Regions from separate parts of the Homo sapiens genome. Here region 1 is linked to region 2. The links are contacts of gene promoters, found by promoter capture Hi-C in human tissues and cell types (Jung and others, 2019). All regions are on one chromosome and are shown on one strand. Each heading gives the region's core, a stretch centred on a gene start or on the middle of the fragment in contact. The rest is flanking DNA. Distances are from core to core; before and after follow the strand shown.

The links. The method cuts DNA at HindIII sites, captures the fragments that hold promoters and counts their contacts. A contact is called where the count stands out against the background at its distance.
Region 1: a contact is called between a fragment that was not itself captured here and the fragment with the promoter of TPBGL in region 2, in 3 of the 25 tissues and cell types used here (lymphoblastoid cells, mesenchymal stem cells and small bowel).

The regions. Positions count from the first base shown.
Region 1 is chr11:74,913,312-74,918,751 of GRCh38, reverse strand. The region is part of intron 8 of XRRA1 (X-ray radiation resistance associated 1); the gene reads left to right. Among named protein-coding and RNA genes, the nearest start is that of XRRA1, 33 kb to the left of the region's middle. The HindIII fragment of the contact is 9,065 bases long and covers 1-5,440 here.
Region 2 is chr11:75,238,601-75,243,832 of GRCh38, reverse strand. It overlaps TPBGL (trophoblast glycoprotein like), which reads right to left and starts at 3,059. Exons shown (of 1, transcript NM_001195528.2): 1 at 129-3,059. The coding sequence starts at 2,783. The coding sequence ends at 1,635. LOC124902717 (a long non-coding RNA gene) reads left to right here and starts at 3,963. Exons shown (of 2, transcript XR_007062783.1): 1 at 3,963-4,187. RefSeq lists silencers at 1,694-1,773, 1,904-2,153. The HindIII fragment of the contact is 18,187 bases long and covers 1-5,232 here.

The DNA of each region.
Region 1 (5,440 bases), core at 1,275-3,774, 320 kb after region 2:
TGGCAGTATCCAACTAGTTGGAAAGGCAGTCTGGGAAGTGTAGTTAAGGAGATGGCTCCAGCCCCCTACAATACATAGAAGAACACAGAAGGAAGGGGTGAAGGCTGAGAGCAAATAGGCAGATAACTGGCACCATTCAACCCTTGGAACCCCAATAGCTACCCTCCTGCTTCCCTCCATATTTAATTTCCATACAACAATAGCAACTGCAACATGCTTTTACCTAACATGAAGGAACTCTTCCTCTTATACTGAAGACACTTTCACCATCCCCTCAAGAAGGATGAGACACAGTTCCATCAGTTACTGTAGCCATTGCTGGATGATATTATTTTCTCTTCTAAAGAAATTTATGGATATTTTATATCCTAAAAACTAAGTTGTAAAGTCAGTCACCACTAGCAGTTTAAGTGTGCATGCGAGTGCACACACACACACACACACACACACACTAAGGAAGGAAGAAAATGCACACGAAAATATGCATAGTTGCTACAGTGATCTTTTCTTAACTGGTCAGGAGGCCATAGTGGATATTTGTAAATCCTTTTTTCCATCACCTATTTAATGTTCCTCTGTCATCTTCCAGCACCTTGGCTGGTTGGGGTTCTTTAACTGATGTGGTCTTCTGAACCTTCACTTCTGAAGGGTCTGAGTCCTTTAAGGTCCTGCTTTTACTGGGTTGCTGTAGTCTTCATTAAAAGACTAAAAGACATGGAACTTCTTAGAGGAGCACCAGATAATACTCTAGTCCCAGAGATACTTTTTTTTTTTTAACCTCAAGGTATAACAGCAATTATATTTATTTTTATAAACAATATCAGTCACCTAGCCAGTAGAATGAACCCCTCTTTGTCTGACTGTTGGTTCAGTGAAATGAGAAATGCAAGTGGCTGGTAGCAATCTCGACTTCCAGTTCAGTGGAACCATGATTGTGTCTCTTGGTAAAAGTACCTCCTTAGGAACTAAGACCTGTAAATCAGAAGTGCCAAAAGTTGTAGAATGAGAAGCAAAAATTCTGCAAGTGGACTATTAGATATAATTGTAAGAGGAGCTACTTTCATTTCCATTAATTCCTAGGACCTTAGGTTGTGGTTATGAGAAAAACAGTATCAGTTTTGGTTTATGTGATATCCTATGCTGTTAAGTTAGGGTCCCAACTTCCCTAACTATATCTAATTGGTATAGTAGATAAATCATCAAAGACTATTTCACTAGAGGATTCTGGGAAGATGATGGAGTAGGAAGCACCAAGAATCTGTCTCCTCATCTAGACAACAATTTCATTGCCAGAATCAGTCTGATGTAACAATTTTGAAACTGTGGACACAAATAATCTTCACACTCTATTAAAAGTTTACGTCTTCCAGGGGAAGATTTAGATGACAAACTGCAACTAATTTCAGTCAATTACAGCTTTAACCCGGTAGCAGCTACCCATCCCCTAACTCCCAATCTCATGGTTCAAATTTTAAACCTGAAAATTAGAATAAGAAATATATTCATTGGGTAATTCACATGCAGCTTGCAGGAGCCAGGGTGGACAAAAAGATCTCTGTCCTCCAAATTTTAGAGATTTGTGCTGTGATCACTGATTGCTACTTCTCATCATTGAGGTGCACACAGAGGCACACAACCATTGTTGCACACACACCCATCCACAACTGTCATAAGCCCTTTCTGCTCCAGCTGAAGAGACTTCCAGGGAATTTAAAGGATTTCTTTTCTTAATCCTCATTCCTTTCCCCATCTTTTGGGAGCCAGGCATTAAAGTCTAGGACATTCAAAATCAGCTGCATATACAGAGGAAATTAGAATGTCACCACATATATCCAGAGAAATGCACAGGCTTAGAAAAGACCTGAGAAGAACTTACATTTACACATCAGCCTGATCCTTGACACAGAGACAGCCTGCAATAATCAAACACGAAACAAAAAAACCCAGCAAACCCTGGTAAAGGGAAGAATCTGATTTCTAGAGTTACCATATTAATAGATTCAAATATTCAGCTTTCAACAAAAAAATCACAAGGCATACAAAGAAACAGAAAAATATGGCCCATCCAAAGGAAAAAATTAAGCAACAGAAACTATCCCTGAGAAAGTGAGTACTTACTAGATAAAGACTTTAAAACAGCTGTCTTAAAGGTTTTCAAAGAACTAATGAAAGATATGAATAAAGTCAAGAAAATGATATATTAACAAAATGGAAATATCAACAAAGAGATAGACAACCTAAAAAGAAATTTTGAACCTGAAAATTAGAATAAGAAATGAAAAATTCACTGGAGAGTTTCAAAGGCAGATTCGAGCAGTCAGAAGAGAGAATCAGCAAACTTGAAGACAGAACAATTAAATGTATCAAGTCAGAGAAACAAGAGGAAAAAAAAAGATTGACTTGAACAAAGCCTAAGGGACCTGTGGGATTGGGATACCATCAAGCAAACCAACCTATGTATTATGAAAGTCCCAGAAGGAGAAGAGAGAAAGCACGGAGAGATTATTTGAAGAAATAATAGCCTAAAACTTCCCAAGTTTGATGAATGACATGAATATAAACATACATGAGGCTCAGTGAACTCCAAGATAGGATGAACTCAAAGAGACCTCCACTGAGTCATATTATAATCAGACTGTTAAAAGACAGAGGATCTTGAAAGCAGTGAGAGAGAAGCAACTCATCACATACAAGGAATCTTCAATAAGATTATCAGCAGACTTCTTGTCAGAAACTTTTAAGGCCAGAAGGCAGTGGGCTGATATATTAAATATTTAAAGTGCTAAAAGAAAAAAAAACCTGTCAATCAGGAATCCTACATCCAGCAGAAGTGTTCTTCCAAAGTATGGAAGAAATTAAGACATTCCCAGATAAACAAAAGGTAAAAAAAATTCATTACCACCAGTCCCGCCCTGCGTAAATACTGGAGGGAGTTTTGCAGGTTGAAATGAAAGGATGCTAGACAGTAACTCAAAGCTGTAAGAAGGAATAAAGCTCTCATTAAAGGTAAATACATGGGCAATTACAAAAGCTAGTATTATTGTATCAACAGTTTCTATTCCACTTGTAGAACATTGTGGGCAGGGAAGGCAAATCTATATCCAAAAATACATTTATAATCTAGTAAAGGAAACTTGCTGCTGCTTTTTAAAGTCAACTTGATACTAGACAGCTGTATAATCCCTCTAGAAATTCGGTGCCATATTAGGGGTTCAGCAGTGGCCTCTGCCATTGGCAGGTTGAGTACTCAGCAAGGGTCATAACCAGATTTGCTATGGTGAAAGGAAGTGTGTAGCCTTCATCCCTGCCACCAAGGGAAAGAGGGCAACTGACATTCATGGATTGGGTTACCTTATCTTCCTGACCATTGAGAGTCTCCGCCACAGGGGATTGTCTTGGGGAAACAGTCATATGAGACACGGTCTTCACACTCTATCCATTCTGAGAGGTTAAGTCACATAATTTTTCTCTATACTTTAAGCAACTTTCCCATATTTTTTCCAAGCTTTGACTATTCAGCTAAACCATCAGCCACTGCCCGTGAATCAGTATAGATCTGTATTTCTGGCTATCTCTCTGACCAAGCAAATGGCCAATCAGATACATTGCTCTAAGTTCTGCCTGCTTAGAAGATTTCTCTTCCCCTGTGTTTTTGGTCACTCCTGTGTGGGGCTATAATATTGTAATAGTTGACTTTGAGAAGGTATCAGCATATCATGCTAAGTCATTTGTAAACCAAGCTAGAGGTTTTTCTTCCTATATTAGATGGCCACAGGACCTTAGTTAAGGGTTGATGAAGAGGTAGCAGTACAGCAGGAGTATGCGCCATAGGAATCTAAGCCATATATTCCTGCAACTTTTCCAGTCTTGCTGGAGCCTGATTTCAAATATTGCTTTCACTTGATGGGGGATTTCTGTTGCATGTTCAGTTCATGATGAGTGGCTCAGGTTGCATGATCACATAGTATCCTGTGGTCAGGTATTTGGCCTCTACCAACATGCACTAGTAAGCAAGAAATTGTTTTTCAAAAAAAAAAAAAAAAGGTTATCTGCAGAATAGGGCATAACTTTGCTCAAAAATGAATCTGCTATGGGTACCGAGAAAAGGCTCTATTCATAGAATGACCATGTACTTTATCATCCAAACCAGGACATATATGAGAGGGAAAAGGGACAGTAGTAATAATTATTTGGCGATAACAGGTGAAAACTCAGGCTATCATTGAAATCCAGGATGTATGGTACCCTATCTGTACAGCACACCTATTTGCCATAGTCCTTTAGAAGCCATTTGGACCTGCTGAGTCATATGCCCAATGGAAGAGCAACTTGCATTACAGTTGGGACCTGTTGTAGAACCTTGCCTTGCTCTGGACCTCACTCAAAACTAGCAGCCTTGTGGGATACTTAGTAAATGAGTTAGAACAGCACCAAATATTTTATGTCACTTCTAAAATTTAAAAGGGGGATGGGCACGGTGGCTCACGCCTGTAATCCCAACACTTTGGGAGGCCGAGGCAGGTGGATCACTTGAGGTCAGGAGTTCGAGACCAGCTTGGCCAATGTGGCAAAACCCTGTCTCTACTAAAAATACAAAAATTAGTCAGATGTGGTGGCGGGCGCCTGTAATCCCAGCTACTCGGGAGACTGAAGCAGGAGAATCGCTTGAACCTGGGAGGCAGTGGTTTCAGTGAGCCAAGATCACACCACTGCACTCCAACCCCAGGCGACAGAGTGAGACTCCATCTCAAAAAATAAATAAATAAAATAAATAAAAATAAAATCCACAAAGGCCAGTGAAACTTTGTGATTTTTTTCCTACAAGTAGTGTAAGATAAATAAGAAGCAAGGTACAGGATTATGTCTTTCACATTAGAAGTACATCACAACATGCTTCAGATACCTGGATAACAACAAAAAATTAATCCATATCGTAGTACCCTGAATTTTGATGGGGGAGGGGGCTTACCTCCATCCTGTAACACACAGGTATCTTACTAAGGCATCTAGGGTGTTTGCAACTTTTCCTGCTCGCCAGGTCCAGTCAGTATGATATTCTGTAGGATATCAAAATAACCAAGATCCCGGAGTTGATATGGCCCCAAGAGAAGAGGAAAAAGGTGTACTGTTGTCCCTGTCAGGTGAAAGCAGACTGCTTTTGGTAGTTCTTATTAATTGATAAAGAGAGAGAAAGAAACATTTGATAGGTCCTTAGCTGTATCCACAGTGCCAGGGGCTTGGTTGATTTGCTCCAGTAAAAAGATTCCACACCTGGAATAGCAGCTGAAAGTGGGAGTCACCTCTTGATTAAGCTTACAGGAATCTACAATCATTCTTCAAAACCTGTTTTCTGTACAAGCTAAATAAACAAAGGATATCTTCTTCACAATACATAACAATCTTCTAAACAAGAGATGTTAAACAGGGATGTCATAGGAAT
Region 2 (5,232 bases), core at 1,810-4,309:
GTCTGGGAGAACGCATCAAGGGTCACTGCCCCACCAAAAAGAAGTCCAAAATGCCCTCCCAAGAGTCCCCTCCCACCCCCATCAGTACTCCAAGGTCAGCAGGAATGATACGGCACCACTAACAAGAGTAGAGTATCTGAGATTATTGCAGACTTTATAGAAAACTGCTCAAGGGAGATCCAGATTTTCTGGGTATGGGGAGGGCAGGCAGGCCTCAAGCCAATATATTAAAGGAAGGTGACTTCCTGTGTGCAGACGCAGCACAGGCCAGCCATTCTGCCTGATCTAGAGGGTGGGGAGTCAGGGAGAGGGGGTCCTCTCCCCCACTCACCAATTGTGCTTTGGGATCATGGAGAAGGCAAGGTGCTGAGCTTCTGACCCTGAACCAGGAGGGCTTGTGCCTGAGGCAGGAGGAAAGACCTACTTCTCTTTCAGAAGATACACGGGGTGAGGTGGTGGTGGTAGCGGTGGTGGCAAGGAATCCCCAAGGGCGAAGAGCCACAGGGGTGGGAGAGAGCATAGAGAAATCGAAGGGCAGCAACTTCCAGCCCTTCAGACCCCACTTCCTGCCCCTCTCTGAGGCCACGATGCCCCACTATCCCTTTCACACACCCAAGACTCTCTCCTTCCCTACAAGGATCTGCCAGTATGCACTAGGGGTGCATGGCACCTGCACCTATCCGGCAGGACTGAAGAGCTCGTCCTGGGACGAAAAGGGGATGAGGACATCCCAGGGACGGATTCCTCACTGGACCTTGACTAGTGAATGGCAGGGGTGGGTGCTGAGTGCCAGCATTGGGTATGGGGGGGGGGTCAAGAGCCAAAGGCTTGGGCAGGAGGACGAAAGTCAGATCGGGGTGAAGAGCTGAGAGTCTGAGACTGGGGACCAGCACTGAGTATCGGGAGGTCAGCGCCCTGGTGGGAAAGGCTGAGAGTTGGCTCCACACTAAGGCTAGATGGGCTGTGCTTGTCCCTGGGATGGGAGGGACAGACTAGGAGCTGAGCCCCATGCCTGAGCCGAGGAAGGGAAGGGCCTGAGCCAGAGGCGGGGGTGGGTGAAGGGGGGGCAGGGGTATGAAATATATTCTTAGATGAGGGGAGGGTGCCCAATCCTCAGAGCCCCAGGGTTGGGCCTCCATGCAGGATGGAGGGCTCTGAGCTCTGGGATGGGACAAAGGGCTCAAAATCCACAAAACCATTCTGATGGGGGTGCTGTGCTTCGAGTCCAGAATGGGATGGAAGGGCCCTCAAGCCCCGGAGGGGACTGAGGGCTCCGAGCTGGCGAGGGAGGTCAGTGCAGTCTCGGGTGTCGGAGCTCCAAGCACAGGGTGCTGGGGGCAAGTCTCAGAGCTTTGGCCTTGAAGGACAGATTCTCTGTGTGAGCTCCGAGACGGGGAACGGACTTTCAGTGGTTCAGGAGGGAGGTTTCGGAAACTAGGGTGGGCAGGCGGGGTTTCTGGATTCGGACCGGCTATCTCTGGGTCTTTGACGGTGGGAGCTCTCGGAGGCGGGAACGAGAGGGTACGGCTTAGCGCCTCCGAGTCAGGGGAAGGTCTCAGAGCTCGGGGCTCGCGGGTGTCTCATCTCCACGGCTTCGGGCCAGGCAAGGGAAGCCCCGAGCCCGGGGGCGCCGCTCAGAGCCCCGAGCCCGGGGAGGTGGCGCGGGAGCCCGCGGGCGCGGCGGGCGCGGGCGCGCGGCGCGGGTCGGCGTCCTGCTCGTAGCGGTAGTGGTAGCCCTCCATCTGGTCCCGGCACGCCTCGCGCAGGTTGCGCATCCAGCGCTGGATGCCGCGGCGGTTTAGGTAGAGCACCATGAGGAAGATGAGGCCGATGAGTGCCAGCACCAGCCCGAAGAACACGTAGGAGGCTTCCAGCTCCGGGCCGGCGGCCTCCGCCTCCTCTCCGCGAGCGTCGGCGCCGCTGTCCGCGCAGCGAAGCCGCGCCCCGTCCAGGTCCAGTAGCGGCCGGTCTAGCAGCGCCCGCGGGGCGGCGCAGCGCAGGCGCCGCGAGTCGGGCACGCGCTCCGTGGCGTTGCGCAGCCAGGCCAGCAGGGGGCGTGCGGCACAGCCGCAGCGCAGGGGGTTGTCGGCGAGCAGCAGGCGCGGCCCGGGGAGGCCGCCATCGCGCTCCAGCGCGCGCAGCTCGTCGGGGTCCAGGCCGGCCAGCGCGTTGAGGCGCACGTCCAGCTGCTCCAGGCGCGCCAGGCGCAGGGCGGCTGGCGGCAGACGGCTCAGCGCGTTGCCCGCTAGGCCCAGCAGGCGAAGCTCGGCCAGCGGTGCCAGCGCAGCGTCCAGCGCGGCCAGCAGCGCGGGGCCGCCGCGCACCAGCGCGTGGTTGAGCTGCAGCGAGCGCAGCGCGGGCAGCCCGCGGAAGGCGCCGCCGCCCAGGGCGCGCAGCGGGTTGTGGCTGAGGTCGAGCGCCGCCAGGCTGGGCAGCCCGTCGAAGGCGCCGTCCTCCACCACCTCGATGTGGTTGTGCGTGAGGCGCAGCGCGCTCAGGAGCGGCAGGCGCACGCCCGCCGCCTGGTCGCCGTCCCCGTCCCCGCCGGCGAAGGCGGCCGCGCGCAGCACCGTCAGGTTGGCGCCTACGATGGTGAGGTTGCGCGCGTCGGGCGGCACGTCCCGCGGAGGCTGGCGGAGCTCGGCTCCCGACGCGCAGCGCAGCAGCAGCTTGGGGCCGCCGAAGCAGTAGCACTGGAAGGGGCAGGGTGCCGCGGGCTGGCTCAGCGCCGCCGCCACGAGCAGCAGCCCCTGGAGCCCCGGCTGTCCCGCGCGCGGGGCCATCGCGGCCGCCCCCGCATCCAGCGCCCGGGCCGCCGCGCTCACCAGTGAGTTGGGAGCGCCTGGTGGGGGGCACGGGTGGGGCGAGTCCTTGACCCGGAGCGGCTGGCAGTCCCGGTCGGTCCGTTCGCTGTCTCGAAAGTCTGAGGAGCCGCACTTACTGGCTGACTGGCCGGGGGCAAGAGGGGTCAGACGGGGAGCGGAGCCCCCCGCCCCCGGTGCCCTCGCCCTGCGCGCCGGCCTCCGGCTTCCGCGGCCGCTCCGGGCTCCGAGCCGAGTGGGCAGGGTTTGCCTCCCCCCTCCCCGCCTCCCGGTCTCGTCCTCCGCCCCCAGCGGAGTCTCCGCGCCCTCCTCGCCGTGGGAGGCGGGGTGGGAGGCTCCCGAGAATCAGGGCTGTCGGCTGCTGCGCTTTCTCTTCATCCTCTCCGCCCCCGCCCCTCCGGGCTGCCGAGAAGTTTGGCTCCTGGAGGCTCCGACTTGGTTTTCCTCCTCCTCCACCCCCAACATTTAAGCTGGGTCCTTCCTCCTCCTTCTCCAGCACGTGTGGGGCGGGGCCCGACTGCGGAGAGCAGGCAGGTGGGTCACCACCAGGGAGAATTCGGGGGTTGGGGAGGACTTTAGAGCTGCTCCTACTACCGGAGGAAGGGATGAGGGGTGGGCTGAGAAAGTTACTCATTTTCCGGCCTCTTCCTAAGGCAGAGAGACTGGAAAATCCCCAGTCTCTGCTTCCTCCTCTGCGACCCTAGTTCCATTAGACCTGGCTGTGTCACCACCCCTGCAGGTCCTATGGGACCAGCTTTTTCTCCATCCCATCCCATCCCATTCTCAGGAGAAGTCTGTGGCACCCGCTCCCCTCCCACCCACCAACTCTGGCTGCTCTGCCTCTGCCAGGAGTTCCCCCGTGTGGTTTCCTCCACCGGGCTGGGCTTCTCTGCCAAGCACTGTCCTAGGCACAGAGACCCGGGGGTGTAGTGATTCTGCTCTTTGCTTTCACTCCCTGCCCCCAAACCTCTTAAGACTCCTGGGGTTCCGTTGGACACTGTCAACTAGTCCCTCCAGGCTTCTCCGCCTGTGAGTGGGGTTTGGGGCACCAGAGGTTGGGAGAGCAGGAGCAGATTTTGCAGCATGGAGTTGGGGGTCTCAGAAGGGGCCAGGGCTGAGGGTGGGGGGGCTGAGCTGTTTACAGATTTGTTTTGTTCTGGATTTTTTTTCCCCCAGAACTGGGAAGCTCTAAACCTGATTTAAAGAGACAGGCTCCTGAGAAGGGAGGATTCCTGGCCTTAGCATGAATTATTCAGGCTGGAGAGGCTGACACTTGATCCGCAGGCCATTCGGGTATCAGCAGAGCTGGTTGGAATAGAGGCTCCCCACCTCCTCCCAAGAATCAGTCTCTTTCTCCTGAATTGGGTACGGTTGTTATGTTGACTCCTTCCCTGAGGTTATATTTAACAGATCGACCAAAGGATCAATACCACTTAAGGAGAAGAGGCAGACCCTGCAGTGGCCTGGGTCTTGGGCAAGGACCAACATTAAGGAACAGAGCTGGTGATGATGGGGGTCTCCCAGCTCTCCCCTCCTCCAAGCCCCTCTCTCTTCCCTACCCCCTGTCTTAACTCTCCCAGGTATGAGAGCTCAGATGTGTCTCATGCAAGTCCATGCAGACTCATTCATATGTGGACATAGGATCGTAGGTTTGAGTGCGTCCTGGCATGTGTCCATAAATTCATAAAGACATACATATTTGAATATGCACACTTCTGAGCCCATGCAGGTTCGTGGATACATTCTCAGAGGGCAAGCTTACAGGCCCATGCTTAAGCCATGCCAAGCATAGGGACCCAGCGATTGGCTAGCACAGTCAGACCCTACTCCTCCTGCCCTGCACCATGCCCTTGGTCTGTGGAGGTAACAGGCTGGTGATGTCTTTTCTCACATGGGCACACGTGCTCAAGTAGATGCCACTGGGGCTGGGCCCCCAGCTATAGCCCTCCCCTAAACCCCGGCCCACACAGCAACATGCCCCAGCTCTGACATCTCCCCTGGTAGGAGGCACTAGGTCGTTTTCACTTTTCTGTTTCCAGTATAGAGACTATCTCAGGAGAGTGTGTGGTGCAAATGACAGACTGAATGAACAGAAGTCTCTGTTTCCTTGTCTGCTTCCAGGCCCTGAGGAATCAGACCACTACCAAGGCTGGAACTCCTTCCCCAGGCCCCGGTGGTGGCTGGCCTCAGATTGGCTGATGCCCCCCTCCCCTGCTGCCCCCCAGGAAAGGAGCTGCAGGACCACAGGCAGCCTTGATTGGGGGGGTGCTCAACACCTCATTTGGGGAAATGAGGCCTGGAGAGAATTTAGAATCATCAGGTGCCAGAGAATAAGGCAAATGTCGTCTGTTTTGCACAAATGGGGAAATAGGCCAGAGGGGCCCCAAGGCCCCTGTCAAGTTTTCAGAGT